Regions from separate parts of the Homo sapiens genome. Here all the other regions are linked to region 1. Evidence: promoter capture Hi-C in 16 types of primary human blood cells and fetal thymus (Javierre and others, 2016). All regions are on one chromosome and are shown on one strand. Each heading gives the region's core, a stretch centred on a gene start or on the middle of the fragment in contact. The rest is flanking DNA. Distances are from core to core; before and after follow the strand shown. Region 1 holds the start of ITGA2B (integrin subunit alpha 2b). Region 2 overlaps MEIOC (meiosis specific with coiled-coil domain). Region 3 overlaps HDAC5 (histone deacetylase 5).

Region 1 (4,549 bases), core at 451-2,950:
GTGTGTTCATGTCTTAACTCTTTCTGGGCTGTTTGTTAAGTCTCCTTGATGGCTATCTTTGGAGTTTTTAAAATATTTTATTTTTTATAATTTTAAAATAGAGACGAGGTCTCACTGTATTGCCTAGGCTGGTCTTAAATGCCTGAGCTCAAGCCATCCTCCTGCCTCAGCCTCCCAAAGTGCTGGGATTACAGGCATGAGCCACTATACCTGGCCTAATGGTTATCTTTGTATCCTTTATCAACACAGTGCCTTGAACAGAGTAAATACTTATTGAAAACTTGAGTGAAATGTAAGTTCATATTTGGCCTCACAGAATACACCAGTAATACAGCAATCACTCACCTGAGGACAGTGGGAGGATAGAAGGTAAGTAGAGGACTGGGTTAAGTATTCGTTCAAGCAAATACATTAATTACACGCCTCCCATGTACTTGACACTGGGAACTCAGCAATGAAGAAGGCCCAGACCAAAGTTCAGGCTTTTAGCTTCCTGTCCTATAAAGGATAAGATTCTTAACTCTAGGCTGAGGTAGTAAATTACGAGGGGACTTCAAAATGGTACAGGGTGGTTGAGCAGGATACGGCAATGGTTAAGTTTGATCAGAAAATAGAAATCAAAAGGAAAATGTGGCTATGGTTACCCCTAGCGGACCTCTTAAATCTTCCTGAGAACCTGCTTTTTTGGGAAGGCATGAGTGCCAGTAAGACTTGGCACTCCTCCTCTTCCGCTTACCGAGAGAAAATGACTTTGCCTTTCTGCTCAAAACTCATCCCTTCACTTTGTCACCCTATGTTTGCATCTTCCATCCTTAGTGTGTGTTTCCATCCAGTCTTTCAGCAATACACGTACTACACATTGGACTCTTGGGTAGTCTCTAGGGCTGTAGCAAGGAGCCTTGCTCCCAAGGGACTCATTTACACAATCCTGTGAACGGACCAAGAGTAAACAGTGTGCTCAATGCTGTGCCTACGTGTGTTAGCCCACGCGGCCAGCCTGAGGAGTCAGGGAAGGCTCCCCTAGGCAAAGCCCCCAACCAGAATCAAGTCTTAATGGTTAAAGAGCTCCATCACCCAAAAAGGATTGAGGGCCTACCTTCAACTGAACAGCTAATGCATAATCTCAGAAACTGTGAGTCAAAATTCCCTGGAATAACTCCACTTTATCCCCAATCTCCTTGCCACCTAGACCAAGGTCCATTCACCACCCTGTCCCCAGCACTGACTGCACTGCTGTGGCCACACTAAAGCTTGGCTCAAGACGGAGGAGGAGTGAGGAAGCTGCTGCACCAATATGGCTGGTTGAGGCCGCCCAAGGTCCTAGAAGGAGGAAGTGGGTAAATGCCATATCCAAAAAGATACAGAAGCCTCAGGTTTTATCGGGGGCAGCAGCTTCCTTCTCCTTCCCCGACCTGTGGCCAAGTCACAAAGCACCACAGCTGTACAGCCAGATGGGGGAAGGGAGGAGATTAGAACTGTAGGCTAGAGTAGACAAGTATGGACCAGTTCACAATCACGCTATCCCAAGCAGAAAGTGATGGTGGCTTGGACTAGCACGGTGGTAGTAGAGATGGGGTAAAGATTCAAGAGACATCATTGATAGGCAGAACCAATAGGACATGGTAATAAACTATTCTCAGGAAAGGGGAGGAGTCATGGCTTTCAGCCATGAGCATCCACCCTCTGGGTGGCCTCACCCACTTCCTGGCAATTCTAGCCACCATGAGTCCAGGGGCTATAGCCCTTTGCTCTGCCCGTTGCTCAGCAAGTTACTTGGGGTTCCAGTTTGATAAGAAAAGACTTCCTGTGGAGGAATCTGAAGGGAAGGAGGAGGAGCTGGCCCATTCCTGCCTGGGAGGTTGTGGAAGAAGGAAGATGGCCAGAGCTTTGTGTCCACTGCAAGCCCTCTGGCTTCTGGAGTGGGTGCTGCTGCTCTTGGGACCTTGTGCTGCCCCTCCAGCCTGGGCCTTGAACCTGGACCCAGTGCAGCTCACCTTCTATGCAGGCCCCAATGGCAGCCAGTTTGGATTTTCACTGGACTTCCACAAGGACAGCCATGGGAGGTGAGCCGTAAGGGAAGTTGGGGTATTGGGAGAGAGCAGGACCCCTCCCCATCACTGCTTCTGGGGGCTTCGAGTTTCCCATTTGCGATAGCAGTTGAGCAAGGTGACTTGTGGGGCCTATTCAGGTTGATTTCTTGTCAAGAATGTTGGGGTCCAGGGGACTGGCTCAGGTGAAGGTATAAGGGCAGGGCACATGTGGGCTGATGGGCACTGAAAACTACAGCAAGAACAAAGGGAAGACAAGAGTTGATGCTTTATTTTTTCCCCAAGGGTCAGTTGTATGAACCACTCCACCCTCAACACCTTGAAATGCAGAGAGGAGGCCGGGCGCGGTGGCTCATGCCTGTAATCCCAGCACTTTGGGAGGCCGAGGCGGGCAGATCACCTGAGGTCGAGAATTCGAGACCAGCCTGACCAACATGGAGAAACCCCGTCTCTACTAAAAATACAAAAAAAAAAAAAAAAAAGAGACCAGGCACAGTGGCTCACACCTGCAATCCCAGCACTTTGGGAGGCAGAGGTGGGCAGATCATGAGGTCAGGAGTTCAAGACCAGCCTGGCCAATATGGTGAAACCCTGTCTCTATTAAAAATACAAAAATTAGCTGAGCGTGGTGGCACACTCCTGTAGTCCCAGCTACTCGGGAGGCTGAGGTAGGAGAATCACTTGAACCCGGGAGGTGGAGGTTGCAGTGAGCTGAGATCATGCCACTGCACTCCAGCCTGGGTGACAGAGTGACACTCCGTCTCAAAAAAAAAAAAATTAGCCGGGCGTGGTGCCGCATGCTTGTAATCCCAGCTACTCGGGAGGCTGAGGCAGGAGAATCGTTTGAACCTGAGAGGCAGAGGTTGTGGTGAGCCGAGATCATGCCATTGCACTCCAGCCTGGGCAACGAGAGCGAAACTCTGTCTCAAAAAAAAAAAAAAAAAAAAAAGAAAGGAAATGTGGAGAGGAGCACATGTCCTAAATTGATTTGCAGAACTAAAGTTGTCTACCCTCCCGCACCTTGCATTTCTGTTCCATTTCCCTCATCTCCATCAACATTATAAATATTTGAAAAGAAGCAATAGGTCATTAATGATTAGTATTGATCAGGCTTCAGAATCAAGAGTGCCAAGATTAGAGTCTTGGCTCCTCCTCTTCATAGCGTGTACCCTGAGCTACTATTGTGAGAGACACTGTGCCCACCAGCTTCAGGGAGTGGCAATGGGTGGCAATGGCAGATAGCCTTCAAGTGTCAGCCACTTAGGGGATTTCCTCTGCTGAAGAGAGCCAGTTCACTCCAAGTCCCCTCCCAAGATGGCCCACATCCAGTGTCTGATCAATGAGAAGTGGGTGAGTGGGGAGAGTGGAGGCAGGTGTGGGGGAGGCATTTGATAAGGGTCCAGCCCTCTTTCATCAACTCTGACAATTCTTTTTTTCTTCTTCTTCTTTTTTTTTTTTTTTTTTTTTTTTTTTTGAGATGGGGTTTCGCTCTTGTTGCCCAGGCTGGAGTGCAATGGCACAATCACTGGCTCACCGCAACTTCTGCCTCCCGGGTTCAAGCGATTCTCCTGCCACAGCCTCCCGCGTAGCTGGGATTACAGGCATGTGCCACCACACCCGGCTAATTTTGTATTTTTAGTAGAGACGAGGTTTCTCCATGTTGGTCAGGGTGGTCTCGAACTCCCAACTTCAGGTGATCCACCCGCCTTGGCCTCCCAAAGTGCTGGGATTACAGGCTTCAGCCACCATGCCCAGACTTTTTTTCTTCTTTTTTTTTGAGATGGAGTTTCGCTCTCGTTGCCCAGGCTGGAGTGCAATGGGGTGATCTCGGCTCACTGCAACCTCTGCCTCCTGGGTTCAAACGATTCTCCTGTCTCAGCCTCCCGAGTAGCTGGGATTACAGGTGCATGCCACCATGCCCGGCTAATTTTTGTATTTTTAGTAGAGACAGGGTTTCACTATGTTGGCCAGGCTGGTCTCAAACTCCTGACCTCAGGTGATCAGCCTGCCTCGGCCTCCCAAAGTACTGGGATTACAGGCGTGAGCCACCACACCCGGCCAACTCTGACAATTTTGAAGGGTCATTCTAGTTCCAAAGCTCGTGGGGTGTTGGCGAATGCTGTCATTGGGCCTGAATCAGCTCAACTCCTTCCTGTGCCCACTCCTGCTGATTTCCCCTCCTATAAGTAGTGATCCCATTGGCACTACTTAAACATCCTGCAGGCTAAAAAAATATTATGGGCCAGACACAGAGGCTCACGCCTGTAATCCCTTGGCCTCCCAAAGTGCTGGGATTACAGGTGTGAGCCACCATGCCCAGCCTATAAAAAAATTTTTTTTAATTAGCCAGGCATGGTGTTGCACACCCGCAGTCCCAGCTACTAGGGTGGCTGAGGGGAGAGGATTGCTTGAGCCCTGGAGATCAAGGCTACAGTGAGCTGTGATCATGCTGCTGCACTCCAGCTGGGCAACAGAATGAGACCCTGTCTCAAAACAACAAA
Region 2 (4,585 bases), core at 134-2,633, 270 kb before region 1:
CAATAAAACTTTATTTACAAAACAGGTATCGGGCAGCTCTGGCTCCTTGTTGCTGGTCTGTGGTATAAAATACCTATAATTATTGTAGTTTTTTTGTAATTTTTTGAATAGATAAGCATTATGTGGATACTAGCAATGTTATTTTTAATACATTATATATAAAATTCAGTCTTGGGGCCAGGCGCGGTGGCTCAAGCCTGTAATCCCAGCACTTTGGGAGGCCGAGGTGGGCGGATCACGAGGTCAGGAGATGAGACCATCCTGGCTAAACCCTGTCTCTACTAAAAATACAAAAAATTAGCCAGCTGTGGTGGTGATGGGCGCCTGTAGTCCCAGCTACTTGGGAGGCTGAGGCAGGAGAATGGCATGAACCCGGGAGGCGGAGCTTGCAGTGAGCCAAGATAGCACCACTGTACTCCATCCTGGGCGACAGAGCGAGACTCTGTCTCAAAAATAAATAAATAAATTTCAGTCTTAATGTCCCCAATCTCTGAAAAAAGTTAATGTATATTTATATGGAATTTTACACTATTCAAATAAATTTCACATATATTATCATATCCAGTAAACCTTGTGACATGAGTATTATCTCTACTTTAAAAACAAGGAAACTGAGGCTGCAAGTCACTCAGCCAATATGTAACAAATCTAAAACCAAAACTGAAGGTCTTTTTCCTCCTATTTGAGGACATTTTATACAGTATCTTTTTTTTTTTTTTTTTTTTTTTTTGAGACAAGAGTCTGGCTCTGTTGCCCAGACTGGAGTAGAGTGGCGAGATCTCGGCTCACTGCAACCTCTGCCTCCCGGGTTGAAGCGATTCTCCTGCCTTAGCCTCCCAAGTAACTGGGATTACAGGCACCTGCCACCATGCCTGGCTAATTTTTGTATTTTCAGTAGAGAGTTTTAGGGTTTCACCATGTTGGTCAGGCTGGTCTCAAATCCTGACCTCAAGTGATCTGCCCGCCTTGGGCCTTCCAAAGTGTTGGGATTACAGGCGTGAGCCATTGCACCCAGCCTCGGTGAATGCTTCTGTAATGAACCTGAGTAAACAAAAACTTTGGGTGTTAAGTTTCTTTTTTTTTTTTTAAATAGAAATGGGGTCTCACTGTGTTGCCCAGGCTGGTCTTAAACTCCTGGCCTCAAGCGATCCTCCTGCCTTGGCCTCCCAAAGTGCTGGGATTACAGGTGTGAGTCACTTTGCCGGGCCTTGGGTTTTAAGATTTTAATGATTTAAACCCTGCCTCCTTCCAAAAGGGACCATGTAGGGAAAGTGAATTTAACAAACAAAAAAAGATTAAGCTAATTTATACATTGTTTATTCTAGAAAATGCTTCCTTAAAGAAGACTGAAAGTATAAATTCAAAATTTTTAACTCTCCAGATAAGTAACTATTAAAACCTGAGATGCAATAACTATAAATACCCAGACATAAACACAATGAAAATAGTATTTTCTTATAAATACAGAAGAGATGTAATTCTGGCCGGGCGCAGTGGCTCACACCTGTAATCCCAGCACTTTTGGGAGGCCTAGGTGGGCGGATCACCTGAGGTCAGGAGTTTAACTCCTGATCAACATGGCGAAAGCCCGTTTCGACAAAAATACAAAAATTAGCCAGGTGTGGTGGCAGGTGCCTGCAATCCCAGCTACTCAAGAGGCTGAGGCAGGAGAGTCACTTGAACCCAGAAGGCGGAGGTTGCAGTGAGCCAAGATTGAGCTATTGCACTCCAGCCTGGGCAACAGAGGGAGACTCCATCTCAAAATAAATAAATAAATAAATAAAATAAAATAAAATAAAAAAGGAAAAGATATAATTCTGGCTAAAAGTATTTTCTAATTGCTTTTATTCTGTTAATATTTCTAAATTTTTGTTCCTAATAGATATGATCACTGAAAAACATTTAAACTATACAACGTTATATGATACCAACAAAATGTGAACATTAAGAAATACCTTCCAATCATCCATCTTCAAGAATCTCAAAATATTTTACAACCATTTGTTTAAGTTCTGGTTATGATTCTATTTAAAACCCACACATTATAATTTTTCTGTTTATAGTTTATATTATGACTATTCTCAAGTTGAGGAAATGGAAACACAGAAGGGATTTTGCTGAGAGCTAAAACTAAAAACTACCTTTCCAGAATTTGTTGGTTAGCAGCAACTTTTACAAAGGCTTTTTATCTTTCTTTCCTAATTTTATCCTTTGAGTTCTAAAGTTATCATCATAGGCCCACTCTTATGTGTGAAGTATCCAAAGTGACATAAATAATTGTTCATCTTTTTGAAATAGTTGCTTAAACAAAAGGAACATTTTCAGATTATGTAATGTCAAATGAATAAACAGTATTGGAAATTGAAAATATTTTGGGAGTATTCTTTCAAGTACATTTTACATTTTAAAATACATTTTGAATATTACAAATAAAATCCTTTTAAAGGACTGACTTAACTTTTGTATTCTTGGGTTAAAACAACTAAAGTAATGTGGTGGATTCAAACAATCATACTTGAAATATCTGCATCCCTTTCGTTAACAGAGGCCAGGAAATATGCAAATATTTGAGTGGGCATATTAACTGGATTAACTTTAAAATGTATCACTTATATCCTTAACATACTTAAAACAGTGAACTGAAATTAAATCCAAATAAATTTTAGTCCGGATGTAAACACTGCAGAGAGCAGTGGAACTATGGTCTGGGTTCCACTTGAGCTTTGTCATTTAGGGCACAAATCAAGCTCTCTGAGGCTCAGTTTCTCAATCTGTACAGTGGCATAATAATATACAAGATTCTTAGTGTGGATTAAATAAAATAATTTATTTCTAGATATTGTTATAATTCAAAGTACAACAATATCAACATTGATGTCCTGGTTAAATAATTTCAAATGAAAATTACTTACATTACCCAAGCTTTATTTCCTTTGATTAATAAATCTAAATGTCTTGGTGAGGTAAGTGGTAGCATATAATTTAAGACATTGTTAAAACCAGAAAATAAAGGAGTAAAGTGAAATTTTCACCTTTAAATTATCAAAAATATGTTTGTACCAACTTGCAATAAATGCCTGAACGAAAAAAAACATATTTTAATCTTACTAAATAATGGATTTTCTTACATTTCTGGAATTATGTTATGCTAAGGACAAGATGGAAACGAATCAATGAAAAATCTTATTCTTCAATTTGTTTTCTTTTTTCTTTTTTTTTTTTTTTTGAGAGGGAGTCTCACTCTGTCACCCAGGCTGGAGTGCAGTGGCATGATCTTGGCTCACTGCAACCTCCACCTCCCTGGTTTAAGATTCTCCTGCCTCAGTCTCCCAAGTAGCTGGGATTACAGGTGCCTGCCCCCACACCCGGCTGATTTTTGTATTTTTAGTAGAGATGGGGTTTCGCCATGTTGGCCAGGCTGGTCTTGAACTCCCGAACTCAGGTGATCCACCCGCCTCAGCCCCCCAGAGTGCTGGGATTACAGGCACGAGCCATGGCGCCCGGCCCTTAACTTATTTTCAAAGCAAAGTATGTATTCTGCAAACACTGTATTTAAAAGATTGTAGCCGGGCGCGGTGGCTCACGCCTGTAATCCCAGCACTTTGGGAGGCTGAGGCGAGCGGATCACGAGGTCAGGAGATCGAGACCATACTGGCTAACACAGTGAAACCCCGTATCTACTAAAAATACAAAAAAATTAGCCGGGCGTGGTGGCGGGTGCCTGTAGTCCCAGCTACTCGGGAGGCTGAGGCAGGAGAATGGCGTGAACCTGGGAGGTGGAGCTTGCAGTGAGCGGAGATTGCGTCACTGCACTCCAGCCTGGGCGACAGAGCAAGACTCCGTCTCAAAAAAAAAAAAAAAAAATTGTTCCTGGGCTGGGCGCTGTGGCCTGAAATCCTAGCACTTTGGGAGGCCGAGGCGGGAGGATGGCTGGAGCCCAGAAGTTCGAGACCAGCCTGGGGAACATGGTGAAACCCGGTCTCTAAAAACAATACAAAAATTAGCCGGGCATGATGGCAGGTGCCTGTAATCCCAGCTACTGGGGAGGCTGAGACGGAAGAACTGCTTGAACCAGGGAGACAGAGGTTGCAGTGATCCGAGATCGCACCACTGCACTCCAGCCTGGGCAACAGAAGGAGACTCCGTCTCAAAAAACAAAACAAAACGGCTGGACGCGGTGGCTCATGCCTGTAATCCCAGCACTTTGGGAGGCCGAGGTGCGCGGATCACCCGAGGTTGGGAGTTCGAGACCAGCCTGACCAACATGGAGAAACCCTGTCTCTACTAAAAATACAAAATTAGCCAGGCGTGGTGGCGCATGCCTGTAATCCCAGCTACTCCGGAGGCTGAGGCAGGAGAATAACTTGAGCCCCGGAGGCAGAGGTTGAGGTGAGCCGAGATCGCACCACTGCACTCCAGCCTGGGCAACAAGAGCAAAACTCCATCTCAAAAACAAAAAACAAAAACAAAACAAACAAAAAAAACAGCCGGGCGTGGTGGCGCGTGCCTCAGGAAGCTGAGGCACAAGAATCGCCTGAGCCCGGCTGGCGGAGGTTGCAGTGAGCCGAGATGGCGCCACTGCACT
Region 3 (4,669 bases), core at 1,344-3,843, 290 kb after region 1:
CTCTGCCTCCCGGGTTCAAGTGATTTTCCTGCCTCAGCCTCCCGAGTAGCTGGGATTACAGGCATGCATCACCACACCCGGCTAATTTTGTAATTTTAGTAAAGATGGGGTTTTTCCATGTTGGCCAGGCTGGTCTTGAACTCCTGACCTCAAGTGATCCTCCCGCCTCGGACTCCCAAAATGCTGGGATTATAGCCACCAACGCTTGGCTCTCCCTGGCCTTTCAGTGGGGCTCTTTGCTAGCCAGAGCTCTTGGCCTGTCCTCTTAGGGAACAGTGCCCCTTCGTCTACCCTCTTTTTTTTTTTTTTTTTAGATAGGGTCTCGCTCTATCACCCAGGCTAGAGTGCAGTGGCATGATCTGGGCTCATTGCAACCTCTGCCTCCTGGGTTCAAACAACTCTCCCTGCCTCAGCCTCCTGAGTAGCTGGGATTACAAGTGCCCGCTACCGCACCCAACTAATCTTTGTATTTTTTAGTAGAGATGGGGTTTTGCCATGTTGGCCAGGCTGGTCTTGAACTCCTGACCTCAGGTGATCCGCCCGCCTCAGCCTCCCAAACTGCTGGGATTACAGGCATGAGCCACTGCGCCTGGCCCAGGTTCCCTTTTTTTTAAGAGACAGCCCTGGGTAACTGGCCACCACGCCCCGGGCCTGTCTATCCTCTTCTTTTCCCAGAGGTTCCCCAGCCTTCCTAGTCCACCAGGAGGCGGCCAAGAGCCTCTTCCTATCATGACACAACCACTTCCCCTTCCAGGTGCTTGGTGCTGATGGCAACTGCTGCCACCTGCTCTGCTCATGCCAGGCTGGCAGAGGGCACAGATCCTTGAGAGAGTGCAAGGCCCGCCAGGCTCCAGGGTCTGTGCCTGGGCAGACTCTATTCATGGGGCTCCATGCCCCTCCTTTCCCTGACTCAGGCAGAGTAGCCATGGCCCCTTCCACTTTGGGTGGAGCAGGTTGCTACCTGGCAAACCCCTGGGGTGCTGCATGTCACCCAGTCCCTGCAGGTCCTGCAAATTAATATTCTGGAGTCGCCTGTGCTTCCTGTTTGCATGGGAACGAGGCTGCATGGCAGAGCCCTCTGCCTGCCCTGCCACCTGCATACCAATAGGGCTGTGGTTCCCGCTGCAGCTCCGGGCCTAACATCTCTGCTGCTGCAGTGGCAGTGACAGGCTGGTGGGAGATTCCCCTTGCCTGAGCCCATGTGCTCTCTGCAGGGCTCCTGCAAGGGAAGCCAGTACTGCTGGCGACAGTTCCAGCCCTAGGCAGGGTTATCTGCTGGGAGCCAGGAGTGCTTGGACCTCTGCCCTTCCCTGGGCAGGCAGGCTGGAATCTGGCTCCTACAACCCCGGCATTGCCGGGAGCAGCAGGTTGACGGCTGTCCATTGCTTGGCTGAGTGATCAGAGTGCCACGGGCCAAGCCAAGCTTGACTAAGAACAGATAACCCTCCGGCCAGCTCAGGGCCTTGCTGAGCACTTCACGGGCTGGGGAGACCTGAGCTGGCTGCCATTTCCTTGCCACCATCGTGGGCTGTGGCTAGTTACCTCCAGGAAGGCCTTCTGCAGTTTCCAAGGACCCTTTCTCCTGGTGCTGGGGCAGGACATGGGTTGGGAATGAAGATGAGTATGTGTAACCCCACCCTCTGGCCACATCTGGCCACTTCTGCACATGTGGCTCTGGCCTTGTGGCCACAGAGTCGTCAGTATGGCTGGCGGGAAAACCACAGAGGAATGTTCCCAACCATGCCTGGGGGAGAAGAGGCTGGTGGGGACTGCTACATCATGCTGAGCTTTTACCTTCTCCCACCCCACCCTGCCTGCAGGGGGTTCCAGAGGCCATACTCCAGGCATGTGGGTGGCATGGCCTTGGCCTCGGCCTCCAGCAGGCCTTGCTCCTGCCTTGGTGACACCCATTCAGTGCTAGGTTCTCTGGAGAGATCCAGACCCATCTAAACAGGTGTGGGGGCCTCTCTTAGCCCACCCTTTGCCACCTCCTACCTCCCACCTCCCTCTCTTCTCTTTAAAAATTGTTCGGCTGGGTGTGGTCACTCATGCCTGTAATCCCAGCACTTTGGGAGGCCGAGGCGGGTGGATCACCTGAGGTCAGGAGTTCGAGACCAGCCTGACCTACATGGTGAAACCCCGTTTCTACTAAAAATACAAAAATTAGCTAGGCCTGGTGGTGGGCGCCTGTAATCCCAGCTGCTTGGGAGGCTGAGGCAGGAGAATTGCTTGAACCCAGGAGGCGGAGGTTGCAGTGAGACTCCATCTAAAAAAAAGGCCAGGGGCAGTGGCTCATGCCTGTAATCCCAGCCCTTTGGGAGGCCGAGGCGAGCGGATCACCTGAGGTCAAGAGTTTGAGACCAGCCTGGCCAACATGGTGAAACCTTGTGTCTACTAAAAATACAAAAAAATTAGCTGAGCGTGGTGGCGGGTGCCTGTAATCCCAGCTACTTGCGGGGCTGAGGCAGGAAAACTGCTTGAACCCAGGAGGCAGAGGTTGCAGTGAGCCGAGATTGTGCCACTGCACTCCAGCCTGGATGACAAGAGCAAAACTCCATCTCCAAAAAAAAAAAAAACAAAAAAAAACCAAAACTTGTTTTTTGTTTTTTTTTTCCCTCTCTCGCCTCTTAATGCTGGGGGGTGGTCTGGAGAGAGGCCAGCTCATGAAGGCAGAAGATACTGGTAGCCAGAAGGATTTCGGGGTCCTTTTTTCTCAGGCCTGGGCTGGAGTGGGCCACTTTGCCACAGGAGTCTTCCCAGCCCCTCGTGACCTCCCTGGGCTGTAGCGAGGAGAGTGAGGGCTTTCTTTGGAGAAAGAAGTAGAAGAGAAACAGGAATGGGTTGGCCTGCCTCTCTCACTTCCGCCTTCCCAGGCAGTGGTATCCTGCCTTCCCCTTCCTGGCTGGAGACTTTGTGGGGCTTGGGCTGGGCTTGGGGCTCCCTGCTGGTGTGGTGTTTGCCCAGTTGTCCTGGCAACCACAGGGCAGTGGTGAGGAGTGACATGCAGTGACCTGAGAACTGTGTGTAGGTACAAAGAAGTGGAGACCTAGCCCTCCCATAAGCCCATTGGAACTTCGTGCACTCCCTGAGCCACTCGGCCCATTGTCCATGTGGGGACTGGACCCAAGGTCTTGGAACCCAGCAGGCCCTCCACTGCCTTCCCCTCCCCAGCAGCCTTCCTCTCCCCAGCCGGTTCTCCGTAAGACCAGAGTTCTGAGATCTCTGCCGAAGCTCCTGCCCTCCCCCTGCTGTTACCCTTCTTCCTGTCTGATTCCCTTTCCTTTCCTGTCTCCTCCTCCCACCTCCTCCCTGCTGCCTGCCCGCCCATCCTCTTATTCCCCCTCCCCCCAGGCACAGCTGCTGTTTGGCTCACTCTATATATAGCGGCATTTTCAGGGTAATTACAATAAAACTGTTGAAAGGAGATAATCCAGCAAAGGAAGCGAGTCTTGACTCCCAGCCCCCTCCTGTCCCTGGCTTGGTGCAGCCCTGCACCCCCTTTCCCCGAGGCCTCCTGTTCCCACCCCACCCCCATTCCCACAGCCTCTCCCTCCTGCCCAGTCTGCCCCAGATAGGGATGAGGCCCCAGAAGGGGACAGAGGGTAGAGATATCCAGAAGGTCTCCACCAGCCTCTCCTGGGGTTACCAAGGGCACTGTCAGTCCTAGAACCAACCTCTGTGCCTCAGTTTCTCTTCTAGTATGAGGCTTTGCATGGGGCACGGTGTTGAGAAATGGGAGCGGGCACAGTGGTTAAAAGCTTAGGATTTGGACTCATATTCTAGTTATTGGATCACCTAGCTGTGTCTGGTTGCTACTTAAACTTCTCTAAACCTCAGTTTCCTCATCAGTAAAATGGGGTAATAATAGCATCTAAGTCATAGGGTAACTGTGATATTTAAATGAGTCATTGTAAAATGCCCAGAGATGTTGACTATCAATGATAATATTATGTGTTGAAGGCTGGGCAGTGGCTCACGCCTATAATCCCAGCACTTTGGGAGGCTGAGGTGGGAGGATCGCTTGAGCCTAGGAGTTTAATTCAGCCTGGGCAACATAGTGAGACCCTGTCTCTACTAAAAAATTAAAAATTAGCCTGGTGCATTGGCATGCTCCTGTAATCCCTGCTACTTGGGAAGCTGAGGTGGGAGGGTTGCTTGAGGTCGAGGCTGTCATGAGCCACGATCATGCCATTGCATTCCAGCCTGGGCGACAGAGCAAGACCTTGTCTCTGATATATATATAGGTAGAGAGATAAATACACACACATATGTATGTGTGTGTGTATATATATATATACACACACATACGTACACACATATATATACACACACACACACAGATACATAAAATGCGTCGAGTAGTCACAATCTGTCAGGTACAGCTTCATGCTTATGCACATTTTCTTTATTTTTTTGAGATGGAGGCTCGCTCTGTCGCCCAGGCTGGAGTGCAGTGGTGCGATCTTGGCTCACTGCAACCTCCACCTCCAGGGTTCAAGCGATTCTCCTGCCTCAGCCTCCTGAGTAGCTGGGACTACAGGCGTGTGCCACCACGCCCAGCTAATTTTTTTTGTTTTTAGTAGAGACAGGATTTCACCATGTTAGTCAGGATGGTCTTGATCTCCTGACCTCGTGATCTACCCGCCTCAGCCTCCCAAAGTGCTGGGAT

Evidence for each region. The method cuts DNA at HindIII sites, captures the fragments that hold promoters and counts their contacts. A CHiCAGO score of 5 or more calls a contact.
Region 2: a contact is called between a fragment that was not itself captured here and the fragment with the promoter of ITGA2B in region 1, in 1 of 17 cell types (endothelial precursors). The highest score is 5.6, in endothelial precursors.
Region 3: a fragment that was not itself captured here is called in contact with the fragment with the promoter of ITGA2B in region 1 in 1 of 17 cell types (erythroblasts); the score reaches 5.1 in erythroblasts.

Annotation. Positions count from the first base shown.
Region 1 is chr17:44,386,800-44,391,348 of GRCh38, reverse strand. ITGA2B (integrin subunit alpha 2b) reads left to right here and starts at 1,700. Exons shown (of 30, transcript NM_000419.5): 1 at 1,700-2,063. The coding sequence starts at 1,876. RefSeq lists an enhancer at 1,484-1,543. The HindIII fragment of the contact is 14,706 bases long and covers 1,253-4,549 here.
Region 2 is chr17:44,657,434-44,662,018 of GRCh38, reverse strand. All of the region lies in intron 2 of MEIOC (meiosis specific with coiled-coil domain), which reads right to left. Among named protein-coding and RNA genes, the nearest start is that of MEIOC, 3.3 kb to the right of the region's middle. The HindIII fragment of the contact is 3,083 bases long and covers 1-2,924 here.
Region 3 is chr17:44,094,383-44,099,051 of GRCh38, reverse strand. All of the region lies in intron 3 of HDAC5 (histone deacetylase 5), which reads left to right. Among named protein-coding and RNA genes, the nearest start is that of G6PC3, 26 kb to the right of the region's middle. RefSeq lists a silencer at 1-189 and enhancers at 537-831, 2,932-3,692. The HindIII fragment of the contact is 2,335 bases long and covers 1,426-3,760 here.